Linked DNA regions of Homo sapiens: region 1 is linked to region 2. The links are contacts of gene promoters, found by promoter capture Hi-C in blood cells and fetal thymus (Javierre and others, 2016). All regions are on one chromosome and are shown on one strand. The core of a region is centred on a gene start or on the middle of the fragment in contact, and the rest is flanking DNA. Distances in the headings are between cores, read along the strand shown. Region 1 overlaps TIAM1 (TIAM Rac1 associated GEF 1). Region 2 holds the start of SOD1 (superoxide dismutase 1).

What was found. Contacts are between HindIII fragments. The CHiCAGO score rates a contact against its expected background, and 5 or more counts as called.
Region 1: a contact is called between a fragment that was not itself captured here and the fragment with the promoter of SOD1 in region 2, in 1 of 17 cell types (fetal thymus). The highest score is 5.0, in fetal thymus.

The regions. Positions count from the first base shown.
Region 1 is chr21:31,205,684-31,209,352 of GRCh38, forward strand. The region is part of intron 11 of TIAM1 (TIAM Rac1 associated GEF 1); the gene reads right to left. Among named protein-coding and RNA genes, the nearest start is that of TIAM1, 140 kb to the right of the region's middle. The HindIII fragment of the contact is 278 bases long and covers 1,946-2,223 here.
Region 2 is chr21:31,657,956-31,661,187 of GRCh38, forward strand. It overlaps SOD1 (superoxide dismutase 1), which reads left to right and starts at 1,738. Exons shown (of 5, transcript NM_000454.5): 1 at 1,738-1,886. The coding sequence starts at 1,815. SOD1-DT (SOD1 divergent transcript) reads right to left here and starts at 2,069. Exons shown (of 3, transcript NR_187558.1): 1 at 1,442-2,069; 2 at 1-140. RefSeq lists silencers at 1,351-1,670, 1,941-2,220 and enhancers at 2,381-2,580, 3,080-3,232. The HindIII fragment of the contact is 11,893 bases long and covers 1-3,232 here.

The DNA.
Region 1 (3,669 bases), core at 835-3,334, 450 kb before region 2:
GGCTGGGCATGGTGGCTCATGCCTGTAATCCCATCACTTTGGGAGGCCAAGGTGGGCTAGTTGCTTAAGCCCAGGAGTTTGACCAGCCTGGGTAACATGGTGAAACCCTGTCTGTATCAAAAATACAAAACTTAGCCACGCATGGTGGGGTGAGCCTGTAGTCCCTGTAGGCTACTCAGGAAGTTGAGGCGGGAGGATTGCTTGAGCCTGGGAGGGCAAGGCTGCAGTGAGCTATGACTACACCACTGTACTTCAGCCGGGGGACAGAGTGAGACCCTGTCTCAAAAAAAATTAATAAATAAGTAAAAGGAAAAAAAGATTATTGCCACAAACCATCATATTTTTCAAACTTCTTTAAGTTACAATAATGTCTTGATAACTTTAAAAAATAAAAATCAGCACAAGCAGCAAACATGAAAATTATAATGGTCTTACTTGTAACTTAAGAGCCCTAATTTTGGTCAGTAAATAGTTACTCTCAAAACAGGACATTGGATCAAAATATATACCAGTGTGTCTTACTATTTTGGTAAAAGTTTCTGAATTATGAGCCCTTGTTAATCACGGCTGGTCTAACATAAAAATAAAATCCTAATGAATTAATTAAATCAGATCATCAGAACGATCAAGAAGAATTTTATGCTCCTTAGATACCTGTTAGTCAATATCAAAGCAAGTCAAACAACTAACCATGTTCAGAATACATCTTTGTGCAAAGGAATTTCAAATGTTAATGAATATTTAAACATAGTAATTCTAAATGTGTGGCCTTGCTTTAGACATAAAACATTCAAGTGAAAACTCAAAAGAAAATTGAGACTCGTAAAACATTCAAGGAAAATTCAGTTAGGAAAAAATTTAAATGGTATAAATTTGTTTTCCAATGTACATGTACTTAAGTTACTTAGCATTTGATGCATTTTGAGGCAATGCAGCCGCAAATTATACCCTAAGTATTATGGTACAACAATTTTTAGTTTAGTTGGCATAATTTTTTAAATTCGCATCTTACTATGACTATTTCAAAGGATGAAACAGCAAAACACAATGTAGATATTTTCAGTAAATAGTTTGCACCAATTAAAATAGATAACATGTCTCAGAATTTACTGCCTTAGAGCTCCTAATCCATTATGTTTTGCTATTTTTCTTCATATTCTTCCATTTCAGTCAAACTTCTAGAAGACATACAAACATGCAATTACTGCATACACAAATGCAAACATGTAGTCACTGCATACAGAAATATGTATACACACACACACACACAAAGTGCTATTGTAGAATTTCTAAAGATATTTTCCCTCCCCTTCAAAGTAACCTTTTCTTTCTCTAAACGCCAATGGTTATAGCATATCCAAAGCCACAGAATGACGTAGTAAAAGCATGAAATAAAACTGACACATGGTCACATGTGAATAATATCAGTAGGTATAAATGAATGAAAATATGTTGCAATTATTTTTGTAGTTGTAACGATCAGAATATATCCAAAACCTACAGGGCAACATGGTTACCTGCTATATTTAGCAACAATCATTCCAGTAACATCTGTGACATGAATTGTATATGAAATGAAGATCTTGAAACATTTACTATACCAGAACTTGACTGGTGCTCAGATGGCAGATGGCAAACTGATGTGAAATGATGTGGATCAGATAGAATAGGAAAGAGAATGAGCTGAATGCAAGAGACAGAAGAAACAGATTGATTATTAAATATTAGAGAAAGCATCTATCACCAAACATTGAGAATAACAATAATGAAACAAAAGACAGGCATTTTTACAATCATGTTTGTTTTCAATGAGGAAAAAAAAACCATTCGCCATTATATCAGATTGTTAATAACATGGGACACTGTTTTCCCCATTATCTCCTTCCCTCTTAAGAATAAAATCAGATCCACTAATTACAATAAGGTGTTTTCCAAGGAAGAAACAAGCTTTAGAAGGCACCTGGCCCTGAGCATACTATATCACTTTTCCTACATGGGTGCTTTTCCAAAGACCATCAATTTCTGAAATGCACACACAAGTCTTCCAGTTTTAAACTCATGAGATTTTTTATGTGTGTGTATTTTTAGTACAGATGGGGTTTTGCCATGTTGGCCAGGCTGCTCTCGAACTCCTGGCCTCAAGTGATCTGCCCTCCTCAGCCTCCCAAAGTACTGGGATTACAGGTGTGAGCCACCGTGCCCGGCATAAACTCATGAGATAGAAGCTTGTTCCACATCACGTTGTTTTTGCTTTTATTTCTATGTCTTGGGAAAAAGACCTGAAGGCCCAGGGAAAATTGGACAGGACTAACTTTTACTGTTGGAGAAAGGGATTTTGTACCTTAATGATGCCATCAGAAACCTTTCAGGTGACAGAAATAAACACTTTAAAGGGGATCAGGTCCACTACATTATCTAGATATGGTCTCTAACTGTCAATGACAATACTATTCTTCATTCCCCTAGTTTCTTCCAAAGCAAAAGCTTGAAACATACGTAAAGTGGGCCAATCATTCATTGCTTCACTCACTGATCAATCTTCCACCAATCAATGGTAATCGGAAAACTTTGGCTTAACCTTCGATTCCTGATCCAGTTTAAAGCCAATGTGCACAGGATGCTCCAAAGCCATGTTATTCTTCTGGAAACACCTTCCAGAGTTCGGCTTATACAAAAAAGCCAGAAAGTTCTACTTTTAACACCTTCATCTGCAGATCTGACAATAACTCTTCAGCTCTGCAGAATGTTAATGGGTCTCTAAAGAATTGTGCTAATTATAAATAAAGGAATGCAGAAATCCTCTACAGACCAATTTTGTTAAGTAATTAACATGAAAAAATTGTGAACTGAGATACCATTATCTCCAAAAGCTAGAACCCTCGTACATGAAGGATTCAAAGCACACAGAGAGGTGATACCATTTATTTTTAGCATCCATGTCAGGGCTGACTTTAGTTATGGCCCAAAACAAGTGATTCTTCTATTTTTCCTCCACATACATAAGACATTTTAAGAGGCTAATTTGAGCTGAACTGTCCATTTCTCTGATTCATATGAAGAGCCATGTTTTTTCTTTAAAAAGCCGTCTGTGATTTGCTTTTTTGAAAATACAAAAATTGCTGATAGTAGAACTACAAAATTGAGGTACTTGCGGAGGTAGTGAAAGTCATTCAGTATTTACAAACATTGTGTTGAATGATGAGATCTTTAAAACGTCATTTCATCCATCCAACTTCTTCTAGGATAAAATTGTGATAGAAAAGTTTTTCATTTTTTTTTTTAGCAGCCCCAAAGAAGACCAATTCACTCCCCTAAGAATATATTCTAGATTCTTCTGAGCCTTACTGATTGTCCTTCCTGAAGACTAACCCAGGTTCTGAGAGTTCTTGTGGACACTCGGCACTGCAGGATGCACCCAGCTGTAGAGAAGCCAGACGTGGGTTCAGTCTCTCCTTTGCAACTGACTGTGATGTGAGTTCAGGCAAGCAGCTAAGGCCCTCTGAGCTTCACTTCCTCCATGTGTACAATGGCAAAGTCTCAGCTCTTTCTCAGGCTCAGACCTGATACGACTACGACATAGAACTATTAATGCTATTCATTATGTAAAAATAAAAACAAGCATGCAAGTAAAGTTCTTCTTTCCTCTCTCTCCCCTCACTCAAGACCATT
Region 2 (3,232 bases), core at 488-2,987:
TTCTTGCGGGGGGAGCATCTTCTTGGCTTCAACACATTCTTTTCTCCATGGGAGATGATGCCAGAAGAGGGACAGAACAGGGCCCAGTAAAGCATGGGGCCTGGGGCCAGGGACCCCCTTGTTCAGGTGTGACGACCATCCTACGAAGGCACCACCCAGGCATCATTAGACCGTCTCAAAAGAAGAGTAATTCACTGTCCCAAAGCAGCTCTCTCGTGTCTGTGGGCGGATCCCTTGGCAAGTTTACAATGAACTGAAATCTGCCGAACTTCCTGGAACCCAAAGAAACTTTAGCCTTGGGCAAAGGCCCTTTGGCCAGCATTTGCACTGTTTATGCAACCGTTTAGAATATACGAATTATCTGGAGACTACTACCAAATACAACAGGCAAAACTGCAAATATGTATACTTCCTAGAGGATGATAAAAAAATGTGAATTGTATTTCTCTGATAGAGGATGCATTAGAGTCTGAGGGTCTAAATAGCGTAAATAATAAATAAGTAAATAAATCGATAGTAGTGTACTCCAAACGAGGCTGGAATAGCTTCTATTGTTGTTTCACACTGGACTTCAATTAAGTCTCAGTATTTTGCCATACTCAATATTAAGTACTAGGCTGGACGTGGTGGCTCATGTCTGTAATCCCAGCACTTTGGGAGGCCGAGGTGGGTAGATGGCTGGCTTGAGCTCAGGAGTTTGAAACCAGCCTGGGCAACATGGTAAAACCCCATCTGTACCCAAAATACAAAAATCAGCCAGGTGTGGTGGCACATGCCTGTGGTCCCAGGTACTTGGGAGGCTGAGGCAGGAGGATGGCTTGAACCCAGGAGGTGGAGGCTGCAGTGAGCTATGATGGCGCCACTGCACTCCAGCCTGGGTGACAGAGCGAGACCCTGTCTCAAAAATCAAACAAACAACCCCCTCGCCCCGGACAAAAGTAGTTTGCACTATTTTCTCATTTCACAATATGTTTTTGAAATATTTCCCTTGAAAGGTAAGTCATATTTATCATTCCTGTTGTATGGAGGCATCATAAATTATTTCACCATTCTACCCTCCTTGAGTGTTGTGGCCTTTAGGCCAGACAAAAACGCAGGTGATGCCTAGAAGCCAACTAGTTGCCGTTTGGTTATCTGTAGGGTTGTGGCCTTGCCAAACAGGAAAAATATAAAAAGAATACCGAATTCTGCCAACCAAATAAGAAACTCTATACTAAGGACTAAGAAAATTGCAGGGGAAGAAAAGGTAAGTCCCGGGATTGAGGTGTAGCGACTTTCTATACCCTCAGAAAACTAAAAAACAAGACAAAAAAATGAAAACTACAAAAGCATCCATCTTGGGGCGTCCCAATTGCTGAGTAACAAATGAGACGCTGTGGCCAAACTCAGTCATAACTAATGACATTTCTAGACAAAGTGACTTCAGATTTTCAAAGCGTACCCTGTTTACATCATTTTGCCAATTTCGCGTACTGCAACCGGCGGGCCACGCCCCCGTGAAAAGAAGGTTGTTTTCTCCACATTTCGGGGTTCTGGACGTTTCCCGGCTGCGGGGCGGGGGGAGTCTCCGGCGCACGCGGCCCCTTGGCCCCGCCCCCAGTCATTCCCGGCCACTCGCGACCCGAGGCTGCCGCAGGGGGCGGGCTGAGCGCGTGCGAGGCGATTGGTTTGGGGCCAGAGTGGGCGAGGCGCGGAGGTCTGGCCTATAAAGTAGTCGCGGAGACGGGGTGCTGGTTTGCGTCGTAGTCTCCTGCAGCGTCTGGGGTTTCCGTTGCAGTCCTCGGAACCAGGACCTCGGCGTGGCCTAGCGAGTTATGGCGACGAAGGCCGTGTGCGTGCTGAAGGGCGACGGCCCAGTGCAGGGCATCATCAATTTCGAGCAGAAGGCAAGGGCTGGGACGGAGGCTTGTTTGCGAGGCCGCTCCCACCCGCTCGTCCCCCCGCGCACCTTTGCTAGGAGCGGGTCGCCCGCCAGGCCTCGGGGCCGCCCTGGTCCAGCGCCCGGTCCCGGCCCGTGCCGCCCGGTCGGTGCCTTCGCCCCCAGCGGTGCGGTGCCCAAGTGCTGAGTCACCGGGCGGGCCCGGGCGCGGGGCGTGGGACCGAGGCCGCCGCGGGGCTGGGCCTGCGCGTGGCGGGAGCGCGGGGAGGGATTGCCGCGGGCCGGGGAGGGGCGGGGGCGGGCGTGCTGCCCTCTGTGGTCCTTGGGCCGCCGCCGCGGGTCTGTCGTGGTGCCTGGAGCGGCTGTGCTCGTCCCTTGCTTGGCCGTGTTCTCGTTCCTGAGGGTCCCGCGGACACCGAGTGGCGCAGTGCCAGGCCCAGCCCGGGGATGGCGACTGCGCCTGGGCCCGCCTGGTGTCTTCGCATCCCTCTCCGCTTTCCGGCTTCAGCGCTCTAGGTCAGGGAGTCTTCGCTTTTGTACAGCTCTAAGGCTAGGAATGGTTTTTATATTTTTAAAAGGCTTTGGAAAACAAAAATACGCAACAGAGACCGTTTGTGTGACACTTTGCAGGGAAGTTTGCTGGCCTCTGTTCTAGGTCATGATTGGGCTGCAAGGGCAGAGAAGGTAGCCTTGAACAGAGGTCCTTTTCCTCCTCCTAAGCTCCGGGAGCCAGAGGTTTAACTGACCCTTTTGGGGATTTTTGAGGGCAGTGATCTTAACTTTGGGTGCACAGTTAGCTTATTTGAAGATCTTACTAAAAATACACCAGAGCCCAACCTCCGACCAATTACATCAAAACCTGTCCTAGTGCAGGGTGAGTATTGCTGTTTTTTGAAAGTTTCCAAAAGTGATTTTGATGTGCACCTACGATTGAGAACTGTCGTTTGAGGACAGTGGGTGGAGTTTCGTATTTGGAAATTAGAAGACCTGGAGTTTCCATTACACCGAATTGGCACTTAATAACTGTTGTCGGAGCATTTCTTAAGCCACATTTTCGTAAAGTGGCTTTAAAATTGCTCTGCCAGTAGGCAGGTTGCTAAGATGGTCAGAGACAAACTTCTGAACGACTCTTGTAAAATATACAGAAATATTTTCAGAACTTTTATCAGTAAAATTACAAAACGTGTTGCAAGGAAGGTGCTTGTGATAACACTGTCCCCAGAACCTTAGTGAAGTTACCAACTGGTGGAAAATTTTCTCTTGCACTCGGCTTAAAAATCATGAGGGAATATTTACTATACGAATGAGATTCAGTCTTTAAAGGGGTTTACAGAAACGTGAGAGGACAGGAAC